Regions from separate parts of the Homo sapiens genome. Here region 2 is linked to region 1. Evidence: promoter capture Hi-C in 16 types of primary human blood cells and fetal thymus (Javierre and others, 2016). All regions are on one chromosome and are shown on one strand. Each heading gives the region's core, a stretch centred on a gene start or on the middle of the fragment in contact. The rest is flanking DNA. Distances are from core to core; before and after follow the strand shown.

Region 1 (6,778 bases), core at 1,792-4,291:
ACAGTAGTAAATAGTTGGATCCTACTGCAGGAAGGAGGGAAATGAGATGGTCCAAGGGGCTCAGCCCAAGTATCTAATAATTGATAATACAGAGATTAAGGCATATAAATATACTTCTAGCCAAGGGTTGATATTTTAAAAGGCACAAAAATAGTATAAATTAGAAGAAATGCAGGATGGACCTGGTGATTTTCTACCATCCCAAAATATCTCAGGGGACAAAATAACAATCTAGCAAGGAATGCAAGAAGGTAATATATTTTGTGGGCCAAGTATGGTGACTCATGCCTGTAATCCCAGCACTTTGGGAAGGTGAGGTGGGAGGATTGCTTGAGCCCCGGAATTTGAGACTAGCCTGGGCAACATGGTAAGACCCTATTTCTACAAAAAAAATGTTTTTTAAATTAGCTGGATGTGGTGGCATGTGCCTGTAGTCCCAGCTGTGTGGGAGGCTGACACAGGAGGATCACTTGAGCCCAGAAGGTCGAGACTGCAGTGAGTCGTGATCATGCCACTGCACTCTAGCCTGGGAGACCAAGCGAGGCCCTGTCTCCGACAACAACAACAAAACCACACACACACACGCATGCACACACACACACACACACACACACACACACACACACACACACTTTGTGGAATCATAAATACCACTGATAAGGTATTTTAGTTTTAAGTTTTTGTAAAACAATTTTAAAGTTAAGACAGGCTAAAAAGTAGTAACCCTTTAAACTTTTTAAATTACATTTTGACTTTCAGAGAAGAAAACCCTTAAGGAATCCTAAAAGGAAGATGATTATCATTTTAAAAGTTTAAAAACACATTTAACCACCTTAGAAACAAAATACTGACCAAATCACCATGAAATATGTACAGAAACCTTTGTTTGATAAAAATTTTAAATTGCCAAGACAGTACTGAAATGTTCATCCCTAAATCTCCCCAAACTACATATTCTGTACTCAGTCCATAATAATATACACATTAATAAACTGTTCAACTGCTACAGCTCCAAAGATGTTCAATAAAATTTTTAACTGTTGGATTACTGGCTACTCATTTCTTTAGCTCCCATTCTAAGGTAGTGATATAACAATGACAATAAAGACTAACACTTAAATGCTAAATGCTAGGTGAGTGCCAGGCACATTTACATGGATTAAGTCAATTAATCCTTAAAATAACCCACTAAGGTTATTTATTATAAGATATTTACTCTCATTTTACAAATGGGAAAACAACAGCAAGCAAGGTTTGTAAAACTCCCCAATATCTTAAATTAAATATAGGAGGCAGGATATTGATCAAGTTGTTCCAAATTTAGATAGTTGTGCTGTCTAATAAGGTAGCTACCAGCCACATACAGCTGTTCAGTACTAAATATAATTAAAAATTCAGTTCTTTAGTTACACTAGACACATTTCAACTGCTCAGCAGGCATATATGGCTAGTGGCCACCATGTTGAGCAGTGCAGATACGAAACAATTCCATCACTGTATACAACTCTATTGGATGGTACCAATGTGTGAAAACTGATGTTTTCGTATCAGCTGCTTATGATGTGTGCTTAAAGAATTGGCATTACACTTGAACCAATTAATCTATAACTCGATATTTCTAATGTTTTATTACTTTTAGCCCCATTATCATTTATCATTATCCACTGTATCTCTTAAAATACGTACTTCTCTAGCACTGTGGGCTCCATGCAACTCAAAGAATTACATAGTTTTAATGTATTCTAAGATCTGATGTCATTCCTTTGTACATGGGCCCATGTTTTTTGTTCAATGTATACTAACTACACTTACTAGCCTCTATTATTTTTGTCTCTTGAATACCTTGTTCCTCCACCTCTCCTGGTAATAATATCACTCAATGTCAGCAGCCTTGCCTGGCAGTTAAGTTCCACTTCCAGCCCCAGGAGTGAGAACATGACCTAGACATGAACTATACTCCAGTCCCTGGCCACAGTTCAATGTTGAACATGTGACTTAAGCTGGGTCATTCAGAATATGCCATATGATCATCCTTGCCACTGGCTCACTGCTATCGGGATCAAGAGCCATAAGGACCAAGTAAGTCAGGATTTATAGTAACCAATTTTTCCTGGCAACATGAAAGAAGCTGTCTACAGAATACCTGTGGAGAAGAAATAAGACTCGGATTACACCATCTGAGACCTGAACCTGGCTGCCTCTTAACTTCTGGACCTGGCATTCGATGAGTTTAGTAAATTCTCTGACTCCTGTTTTGTTGAGTTTGTATGCTTTGGATTTGTATCACTTACAATTTAAAGTGCAGGAGTAGAATAATCAGAGATAAAGAGTTTCAAGACCCTTGTTATAGTATGGGAAGAAAAAGATACAAAGGATATACTTACGTTAAATATGGACAGTAAAAAGGAAAAAAAAAGTAAAATTAGTAGAGGAAAAAAAGAGCAATAAACTAACAACAAAATACTTCCTTAAGGTTACTAAATTGCTAATTACCACCGTAGAGTAAGTAGAACCACAAGGGCACTTGTCCTAGAATTCTAGATCTGGATCTTCATAGAGGTTTAAAAGTCACTGATTAAGAAAGAAAAAAGGCAGTAAGATCCCACATTTCAGTCTTCATCTTATGCTCTTCAATCTTTAAAGAGCAGTACCTTTCTTACAAGTAAAGCTAAAAATATTTCTAAAATAAGCAAGATCAGTGAAGAATTCTTTGGGTTTAAAAAAAAAGGATGCTAGAGCAATATGATCTAGGTAAACAGGTAGCTGATAAAGTTGTAAGACCTAGAGAATCTAAGCAGAGGAATTTTAATAGTTTTTTTTTTCTATATGAATTCTAGTAAGTGTTGCTTCAAAATGACAGTTTTGGGCTAGGCCCGGTGGCTCATGCCTGTAATCCCAGCACTTTGGGAGGCCGAGGCGGGCAGATCAAGAGGTCAGGAGATTGAGACCATCCTGGCTAACACGGTGAAACCCTGTCTCTACTAAAAATACAAAAAATTAGCCGGGTGTGGTGGTGGGTGCTTGTAGTCCCAGCTACTCGTGAGGCTGAGGCAGGAGAATGGCGTGAACCCGGGAGTCAGGGCTTGTAGTGAGCCAAGATTGCGCCACTGCACTCCAGCCTGGGGGACAGAGCGAGACTCCATCTCAAAAAAAAAAAAAAAGTCTGACATAGCACATGCATAATAAATGATCAATCAACTGCTACTCTTAAACACAGATTACCAGGTCTAGTTGATTTTTTCATTTTTTGATCATATATGTTCTAGTGTTTTCAAAAAACCACTCTACTGAGATATTATTCACATACCATACAATGGCATATTACTACCGAATGGTATAAAAGCCATTAAATGGCTTTTGTATATTCGGAGTAGTGTGACCCTCACTACAATCAATTTTAGAACATTTTTATTACCACAAAAAACAACCCCACTGCTCTTAGTCATCACCTGCTAATCCCCTCCATTCTCCCAGCCCAAGGCAACCACTAATTTACTTTGTGTCTCTATAGATTTGCCTATTCTGGACATTTTGTATGCCTGGAATCATACAGTACATGGTCCTTTGTAACTGTCTTCTTTTACTTAGCATGTTTTCAAGGTTCATTCACATTGGAACATGTGTCAACACTTCATTCCTTCCCTTCCCTCCCCCCATCCCCCCACTTGGGACAGGGTCTTGTTCCACTGCACAGGTTGGAGTACAGTGGCAAGATCATGGCTCACTGCAGCCTCAACCTCCTGGGCTAAAGTGATCTTCCTGCCTCAGCTTCCCACGTAGCTGGGACCACAAATGTATGCCACCATGCCCAGCTAATTTTTTTAATTTCTGTAGAAATTATGTTGCCCCAGCTGATCTCAAATTCCTGGACACAAGGGATCCTCCCGCCTTGGCATCTCAAAGTGCTAGGATTACAGATATGAGCCACTCGCCTGGCCCTTCATTGCTTCGTATTGTCATACAATGTTCTACTGCATGGATATTACATTTTGCTTATCCATTCATCAGTTGACGGACATTTGGGTTGTTTCTACTTTTTCACTACGATAAATAGTGCTGCTATAAACGTTGGTGTACAGTTTTGTTTGGTCATATTTTCATTTCCCTTGGTTATATACCTAGGAGTGGAATTCCTGGGTCACAGGGTAACTCATGTTTACTTATTTAAGTGTTTAACAAATTGAGGAACTTCCAGACTCACCAAAATGACCACACCCTTTACACTCCTACTGGCAGTATATGAGGATTCCAATTTGTCTACATCCTTTTCAACTGTTGTTATTATCTGATTTTTGTAATTATAGACACAAAGGTATCTCACTATGGCTTTGATTTGTATTTCCGTCAGGACAGATGACATCTATTTTACTTTTTTTTTTTTTTTTTGAGACAAGAGTCTTGCTCTGTCACCAGGCTGGAGTGCAGTGGCTCGATCTCGGCTCACTACAATCTCCACCTCCTGGGTTCAAGCAATTCTGCCTCAGCCTCCCGAGTAGCTAGGACTACAGGCACGCACCACCATGCCTGGCTAATTTTTGTATTTTTAGTAGAGACAGAGTTTCACCATGTTGGCCAGGAAAGTCTCCATCTCTTGACCTCGTGATCCGCCCACCTTGGCCTCCCAAAGTGCTGGGATTACAGACGTGAACCACCACGCCCGACTTATTTTACTTTTAAGTTTACTACTGTATGTCACAGCAGGAGTGTGTGTCATCAAAACAAAAGAAGTTTGCCTATTTGCTAGGACAGAATGGACATGGACCACTTATGTAGTAGTTTGCGAGGGCTTCTGTGACAAAGTATGACAAACTGGGTAGCTTAAACAACAAAAATTTAACTTTGCACAGTTCTGAGGGTAAAATCAAGGTGTTGGCAGGGTTGGTTCCTTAAAATGGTCAAGTAGGATCTGTTCCAGGCCTCTATCCTTGGCTTGTAAATGGCCATTTTCATGTTCATGTGGCATTTTTCCTGTATGAATAACGGTCTCCAAATTTCCCCTTTTTATAGACACCAGTTATTAATATATTGAAATAGGGGCCCACCCCTAATCCACAGCTTGATGAGAATGCAAAATGGTATAGCCACCTTAGAAAACTGTTTGGCAGTTTCTCAAAAGGTTAAACATAGTTACCAATATGACCCAGCAATTCTGCTCCTAGACATATAACCAAGAGATATGAAAACATACATCTACATAAAAACTTGTCCAAGAATGTTTACAGAGTGATGCTCACAATAACCAAAAAACAGAAACAACCCAAATATCCACCAACTGATGAATAAAACGTCATATATCCATTCAAACGCATATTATTCAGAAATGAAAAGGAATGAAGTACTGATTCATGCTACAACATGGATGAACCCCAAAAACATTATGCTAAATAAAGCATCCAGTTGCAAAAGACCACATACTATATGATTACACATATATGAAATGTCCAGAATAGGCAAATCTATAGAGACAGAAAAGTAGTGGTTGCTGAGGACTGGGGAAGAGGGAGAATGTGGAAGGGACTGCTAATGGGTATGGGGTTTCTTTTTGGAGAGATGAAAATGTTCTATAATTAGATATGGTGATAGTTGCATAACTTTGTGAATATATAAAAACTGAATGAACTGTACACTTTAATAGGGTTAATTTTACAGTACACGAATTATATCTCAATAAACTTGTTTAAAAAACCAGCAGAGGCTGAGCGTCGTGGCTCATGCCTGTAATCCCAGCACTTTGAGAAGGCAAGGTGGGCGGATCAGCTGAGGTCAGAAGTTCGAGACCAGCCTTGCCAACATGGCGAAACCCTGTCTCTACTAAAAATACAAAATTAGCCGGGTGTGGTGGCTCACGCCTGTAATCCCAGCTACTTGGGAGGCTGAGGCAGGAGAATAGCTTGACCCGGGAGGCAGAGGTTGCAGTGAGCTGAGATGGCTCCACTGCACTCCAGCCTGGGCGACAGAGTGAGACTCCGTCTCAAAAACAAACAAACAAACAAACAAAAAACACATACAAAAACCTCAGCAGAATAGCAGAATATTAACATCGGCCACTTTCAACATGATTCATATAAGTCAGGTTATATACAAACTTGTAAAAACATCACATTTTGAAACCTTCTTATAACAGTGCTTGATCGGGCATCAGCTTGACCGACATTCAAATATTTTGATGCTCCTGAATCCCTGATTTCTGCAACTGCTACACATCTCAATTCCTTCCTACTCCTCTTTCCATGGTGATGACTTGGAAACATTATTATTGCTAATCTGGATCTGCTGAAATTTTGTACAAATCACTGCTGTTTGCCTTTTGCCACAACATATTGTGATCCTAAAAAGCACAAATGCCACTTTATAAAAAAGGAACAGAGGGTTGTACTTCATTTCAGTATGAAATACTGAATTTCCTCCCATTTGCCTGAACTTTAGTTCAGAAAGACTCTTTCAAATATCTAAGCAAACATAATCTAGATAGCCAAGAAATCTATTCATAGAATGGATGCCAAGCAATGTTAGAGCCAGGCACGGTGCCTCATGCCTGTAATCCCAGTGCTTTGGGAGGCCAAGGCAGGTAGATCAGTTGAGTTAAGGAGCTCAGGACCACCCTGGGCAACACAGTGAGACCCTGTCTCTACAAAAATTAACTGGATGCGGTGGCACATGTCTGTGGTCCCGGCTATTAAGGAGGCTGAGGTAGGTGGATCGCTTGAGCCCAAGAGGGTGAGGCTGCAGTGAGCTATGATCATGCCACTGCACTCTTCAGCCTGGGCAACAGAGTGAG
Region 2 (6,778 bases), core at 3,152-5,651, 510 kb after region 1:
CCCTGCAAGAAGTTGCTCAGTTGATTGTCCTGAAATAAAATCATACTAGTTACCTGGTTTCTGGGAAGAGCAACATGGTGTTCAACAAACGCTTCATTTTTTTTTTTTTTTTTTTTTTTTTTTTTTTTTTTTTGAGACGGAGTCTTGCTCTGTCGCCCAGGCTGGAGTGCAGTGGCACGATCTTGGCTCACTGCAAGCTCCGCCTCCCGGGTTCACGCCATTCTCCTGCCTCAGCCTCCCGAGTAGCCGGGACCACAGGCGCTCGCCACCACGCCCGGCTAATTTTTTGTATTTTTAGTAGAGATGAGGTTTCATCGTGTTAGCCAGGATGGTCTCGATCTCCTGACCTCATGATCTGCCCACCTCGGTTCTGTCGCCAGGCTGGAGTGCAGTGGCGCGATTTCGGCTCACTGCAATCTCTGCCTCCTGGGTTCAAGTGATTCTCATGCCTCAGCCTCCCGAGTAGCTGGGATTACAGGCATGCGCCACAACACCCAGCTAATTTTTGTATTTTTGGTAGAGATGGGGTTTCACCATGTTGGCCAGGATGGTCCCGATCTCCTGACCTTGTGATCCGCCCCCCTCGGCCTCCCAAAGTGCTGGGATTACAGGTGTGAGCCACTGTGCCTGGCCTTGTCTTTATTTTAACACCTTCAAGTTATTTATATATATTCTGCATCTGAGCTTTATATTGTTTATATATGTAGCAAATACCTTCTCCCACTCTGCAGCTTGCTTTTTCACTATTTTTTTTTCAGACTGGTGCTCTAAAAAAGCAGACACTACAATTCCAAGCTGGCGAAGTCTCTGAAGTCCAACTGGAAGTGCTAGGGCAAAAATTATGCATCAGGAAATGCGTAGCCCCTTGTACTACTGCCTTGCTCCGTCAATCATTGGCCAGGATCTCCCCAAGAAAACAGTGGCCTTGGCTATCACTGTTTGCTCAGTTTTTGGCTGGAGGAAGCACTCCAAGAATAGCAGGTCCTTGGCTCAACAGTTAGACAAACCTGATAAACCCAACAGCCGTAGGCTGTTCATCTAACCACACGCCTTACAGCTGGGCAGTGAGTCTTTCTTTAAGGGAGGTCTGAGCAGCACATCTTTTGTGTCTGCCACTCTCTTTTAATAGACAGCCTCTTTTAACATGCACCTACAATGTTTTCGACATCCTGTGCTTTCTCTTTCCTCTGGACATGCTGTCGTTTAGAATCTGCAATGTCCTTGTGTCTATAGTTTACCTGGTAAAATTTGTCCTTCAAGTTTCAGCTTGGATATTTGCTCTTCTGTGAAGACTTTCTCTGCCCCCTGTTAGGAGCTTATTTGTATTTGCAACCAGTTTGGTGGTAATCGATTGGATTCTCACTCAAAATTCATATGTTGAAGCCCTAACTCCTAGTACCTCAAAATGTGACTGTATTTATGGACAGGGTGTTTAAAGAGGTGATTAAGTTAAAATTAGGCCGCTAGAGTGGGCCCTAATCCAATCTGACTAGTGTCCTTATGAGAAGAGATTAGGACACCAGGGATGTGCACACACAGAGGAAAGGCCATGTGGGGACACAGAGAGTAGGTGGCCACCTGCAAACCAAGGAGAGAGGCCTCAGGAGAAACCCAACCTGCTGATACCTTGGTCGTGGGCTTCTAGTCTTCAGAGCTGTGAGCAAATAAAAAAATATTTTTTTGAGATGGAGTCTTGCTCTGTCACCCAGGCTGGAATGCAGTGGTGAGATCTTGGCTCACTGCAACGTTCACCTGCCAGATTCAAGCAATTTTCCAGCCTCAGCCTTCTGAGTAGCTGGGATTACAGGCATGTGCCACCACATCCAGCTAATTTTTGTATTTTTAGTAGAGACAGCATTTCACCTTATTGGCCAGACTGGTCTCAAACTCCTGACCTCAGGTGATCAACCCTCCTCGGCCTCCCAGAGTGCTGGGATTACAGGTGTGAACCACGGCGCCCAGCCCTGTGAGCAAATAAATTTTTGTTGTTTAAGCCTTCCAGTCTGTGGCATTTTGTTCAAGCAGCCCTAGGCAAACATACATCCCCCACCCTCAACCCAGGAAGTCAGACACTCCCCTTCCATGCTTCCTTAGAGCTTTTGACACAGCCCTAGGGCAGCCTGATATTGTCCTTGTTTTGTATGCCTATCCCTCCACTATTTCTAAACATTGAGTTTCTTGAAAAAGAGAATGGTTTGAATGACTCTATCTCAAAATGAGAGACAAAAGGAGGATTCCTTTTTTGTTTAAAGACAGGATGTCTTTCTGTTTCCCAGGCTGGAGTGAAGTGGCATGATCATAGCTCACTGCAGCCTCAAACTCTTGGACTCAACCAATCCTCCTGCCTCAGACTCCTGAGTAGCTGAAACTACAGGTGCCCACCACCACGTCCAGCAATTTTTTCTATTTTTTGCAGAGACATGGTCTCACTATGTTGCTCAGGCTGGTCTCAAACAACTAAGCTCAAGCAATCCTCCTACCTTGGCCTCCCAAAGTGCTGGGATTACAGGCGTGAGCCACTGCGCATAGCCAGAAGATTACATTTTTTGGGGGGGGTGGGAACGGAGTCTTGCTCACTCTGTCACCCAGGCTGGAGTGCAGTGGCACAATCCCGACTCACTGTAACCTCCGCCTCCTGGGTTCAAAGCAATTCTGCCTCAGCCTCCCGAGTAGCTGGGATTACAGGCACTAGCCACCACACCCGGCTAATTTTTTTTTTTGAGATGGAGTCTTGCTCAGTCGCCCAGGCTGGAGTGCAGTGGTGCGATCTCGGCTCACTGCAAGCTCCGCCTCCCAGGTTCACGCCATTATCCTGACTCAGCCTCCCGAGTAGCTGGGACTACAGGCGCCTGCCACCACACCCGGTTATTTTTTTTGTATTTTCAGTAGAGACGGGGTTTCACCGTGTTAGCCAAGATGGTCTCGAACTCCTGACCTCGTGATCCACCCACCTCAGCCTCCCAAAGTGCTGGGATTACAGGTGTGAGCCACCACGCCTGGCCTAATTTTTTTATTTTTGGTAGAGATGGGGTTTCACCATGTTGGCCAGGCTGGTCTGGAACTCCTGACCTAAGGTGATCCACCCACCTCAACCTCCCAGAGTGCTAGGATTACAGGTGTGAGCCACCACATCTGGCCAGGATTACTTTTTGAGAAGCCAATTTAAAGATTCATGGATTGCAGACAAGCTGGAACCCTAGGATAACCTGGCAGAAATCCTAAAAGTCAGAAACTACGGTACTTGCACCTTCCTCTGTTAGGCTGAGAGAGTACTCACCTTGATGGGAGTAGAAGCAAAGTAGAGCATAGGAAGCAAAACAGAGTAATAGCCTGTGTGTGCTTAAATTGGTGTCAAGCAGCTTGAAGTTGAATTGGTAATGAGGGAGTTTACGTAGATCTAACAATCTCTGAATGGTTTTTACCCTGAAGTCTTCATCCACTAAAGGAGAGAGAGAGAGAGAGAGAGAGAGAGAGTGTGTGTGTGTGTGTGTGTGTGTACGTGCTTGCGCATGGTAAAGGTAGTATTGCAACATTGTGGCCAGGCCGCTTAGGTTCAATCCCTAGCTCCACCATTCATTAGCTCAAAAGTTCTAAGCCTCAGTGTCATCTTCTGTAACGTGGCAATGATGCTGTTTATTGTTTCAACTCCATAGAGTTGTTATGAGGGTTAAATGACATTAATCATGTCCTTTATGGACTAACGTAGGAACTAGTCAATAAATGTCAGCTGTTGTTATTGCGATAGAATATCGTACCCCATTCAGTTGAGAATATATAATGTTACGCCCTACCTTAGAAGAGAAACCCCTGCATCCTTTGGTAAGTGGCAGAAAAGAATTTAGCAGCACACAAATGCCGGGTGACCTTATGGAGTGCCCTGTGTCCACTTCCTCATGATTATGTTTTCATAGTCCATGATTTGAAGTCTTTTGCAGTTGGGTTTATTACCACTGGACTCAGACAAAAATGCAGTCTGTTTACTGAAGCTTTTGCTTCAGAATATCACAAGCATATCTAGAGAAGAAGTATGTTGTAATGTAAGGATTTCTGTCTGCTAGCGCTTTCTCAAGGCTGAGTCTAAGAATGCAATCAGTTTGGTGGTAATCGATTGGATTCTCACTCTGTGACCTATATGCAGCTTTGAAAGGGGCCCTTCTGGCACCTTGTGGGGATTACAAAGGCATGGATCTCTTAGAGAAAGTCTCAGTGCATCAGGTGATCACAGTAATTGTGCCAACCATGGAAGTACATAGGGGTTTGGTAGTTTTAAAGCACTTAAGCAACAACTTGGAAGAGCATACAAAACTTGTTTTCCTTCCTGGATGAGACTGTCCTGCTTTCAATTCTCTAAGCTAAATGCACAGTGGATGGTTGCCTAGGAGACAACCTGTAAACTAAGCAGTCTATTTGCAGCTAACTAAAGGGTTTGTGCATGCAGGACCAGCTTAATTAAAGACAAAATTTAAAAGGAAAAATTATTTGGGCTGTACAACACTGAAAAAAAAATCTGAATCTATGCTGTTTTTAAATGGATCCCTGGTTGAAGTGTGGGTTACAGCTGTCCCAGAAATCAGTGCCACAATGAATTAGGATGATGTTGGCTACTGTTTGGCTTGGTGTTTCTTCAACTGTGTGCCACGTCCCTCAGCAAAACACAGCACAGGTAAGCCGAATCTCTGCTTTTCATCTCATTTTAGATAAACTGTATGTTGCAACTTTTTTACTCCCCAAAGGATGTCCCAGAGGAGGAATGCCTGGTAAACTGATAGAAGAAACTGTGTCCTAATCTCAAATAATAATATCCTTGGAGTTGTAATAAACTATTTTTTACTTTTCAAATATTGTGACGATTTCCTCCAATACTTATGCAGGCACCTCTAGACCATAGGCTAAATTACTAATGACAAGAAAAGTGTATGAAAAACACTTGCCTTCATTGAATTATACCTAGGGGTAATCTTTTAGTTTAATCACCCAAATATGTGTAAACTTTACATGGTATGAATCTTCTTGTAACCAATCAATATTGTATACATATGTTCTTAACCATGCTTTCTCAACATGAAATGAGATTTCTGTTGCTTTAAATCTTTATTGCATAAGGTTCTAAATCAAATGTACACTATAACAAAAGGTTTTGGTTTTACAAATAGATAAACCATGCATGCAATTAAAAATAAAAAAGACTGGGTTTTAATAGATGCTAAACTAAAAACCTCTGTGGAATGAAACACTATTCCTCAAAAATCATTGACCAAAACAGTTCTAAATGGGGCGGGCATGGTGGCTCATGCCCGTAATCCTAGCACTTTGGGAGGCCAAGGAGGGTGGATGACCTGAGGTCAGGAGTTCGAGACCAGCCTGCCCAACATGGTGAAACCCTGTCTCTACTAAAATACAAAAATTAGCCGGCAAGGTGGCAGGTGCCTGTAATCCCAGCTACTTGGGAGGCTGAGGCAGGAGAATTGTTTGAACCTAGGAGGCGGAGGTTGCAGTGAACCGAGATTGTGCCACTGTACTCCAGTCTGGGCGATAGAGGGAGACTCTGTAACAACAACAACAACAACAATAACAACAACAATTCTAAATGGAAAATTGAGAAATATTTTCTTATGAAAAAAACCTAAAATGGACATGTACAGATTGAAGGTTGGAAGAGGAAATAGAGCTCAATAATAAAAAGCACTGTGGGTTTGTGACTAAGCCTGGGCAACATAGTGAGACTCTGTCTCTACAAAAATAAAACATAAAAATAACTAGCGGGGCATAGTGCTGTGCACCTGTAGCCCTAGTTATCTGGGAGGCTGAGGTGGGAGGATCCCTTAAACCTAGGAGTTTGAGGCTGCAGTGAGCTATGATCAAGCTGCTGTACTCCAGCCTGGATGAGAGAGTGAGACCCCATCTCTAATAAAAATAATTTTTAAAAGCCATGGTCTGTGCATGTTAACTAAAAGAATGACCTGCATATAGGGATAATGCTATGTGCTCATTCCATCTTCATTGTCTTCCTCCAGTCTCTATTGAGTATGTGAGACAATAAATGGCCAAATAATGACCACATTACCCGGTATTGCAGTGATTTGATTTGATAATTTTGGGATTGTAGTTTAGTTAAATCTAAATTTTTTTGTTTTATTTTAGATGATAGATACTACTTATGAAATGCTCTCCCTTAAGGGTCACATTAAAAAGTTAAATTACAACTCCATAACATTGCTAGGTAATAACCTTGGGGGAAAAATGTTTGAAGTTTTATTAGTACTTTATGAATAAAGTGTGATATAAATATCTATTTCTTGCCTAGTTGTTATTTGAATATCTGATTTTTAGCTTTATTGAAAGACAAGTTTTAATTATCCTTTGTTTCGGAAAACCTTTTTTCCCCCTGAAATGATCCTGCAAATACTGTTGCATTTTCAAAAACAAGTATGTAAATCTAAGTTACAAAGCAATTTACTGGGACAGATGTGTGTATTGGTTTTAATTATTTCTGTGTCCTGATTTTGAGTATATCATCTGCCCCTTCCGCCCTTAGTAAGGTTCCAAGTACACTGCTTATTAAATGCTAATGATTAAGATAATGATGATTAAGTGACAGCAATCAACTAAACGTCTGCTTCTCTTAAAAGAGCTTAAAGAAAACTGTTAGGCATTACTGGTGGGAGTGTAAATTGATACAGCCATTCTGGAGGACAATCTGGCAGTACTTTGTGAAATTAAATCCATTCGACCCACTTGCCCCAGAGAAACGTTTACAGGGTGCATAATAAGGTCCAAA

The links. Contacts are between HindIII fragments. The CHiCAGO score rates a contact against its expected background, and 5 or more counts as called.
Region 2: a contact is called between the fragment with the promoter of MAP3K19 here and a fragment that was not itself captured in region 1, in 2 of 17 cell types (naive CD4 T cells and fetal thymus). The highest score is 5.6, in naive CD4 T cells.

The regions. Positions count from the first base shown.
Region 1 is chr2:135,552,905-135,559,682 of GRCh38, reverse strand. The region is part of intron 1 of R3HDM1 (R3H domain containing 1); the gene reads right to left. Among named protein-coding and RNA genes, the nearest start is that of R3HDM1, 25 kb to the right of the region's middle. The HindIII fragment of the contact is 9,576 bases long and covers 1-6,778 here.
Region 2 is chr2:135,045,070-135,051,847 of GRCh38, reverse strand. MAP3K19 (mitogen-activated protein kinase kinase kinase 19) reads left to right here and starts at 4,401. Exons shown (of 13, transcript NM_025052.5): 1 at 4,401-4,663. The HindIII fragment of the contact is 2,914 bases long and covers 3,989-6,778 here.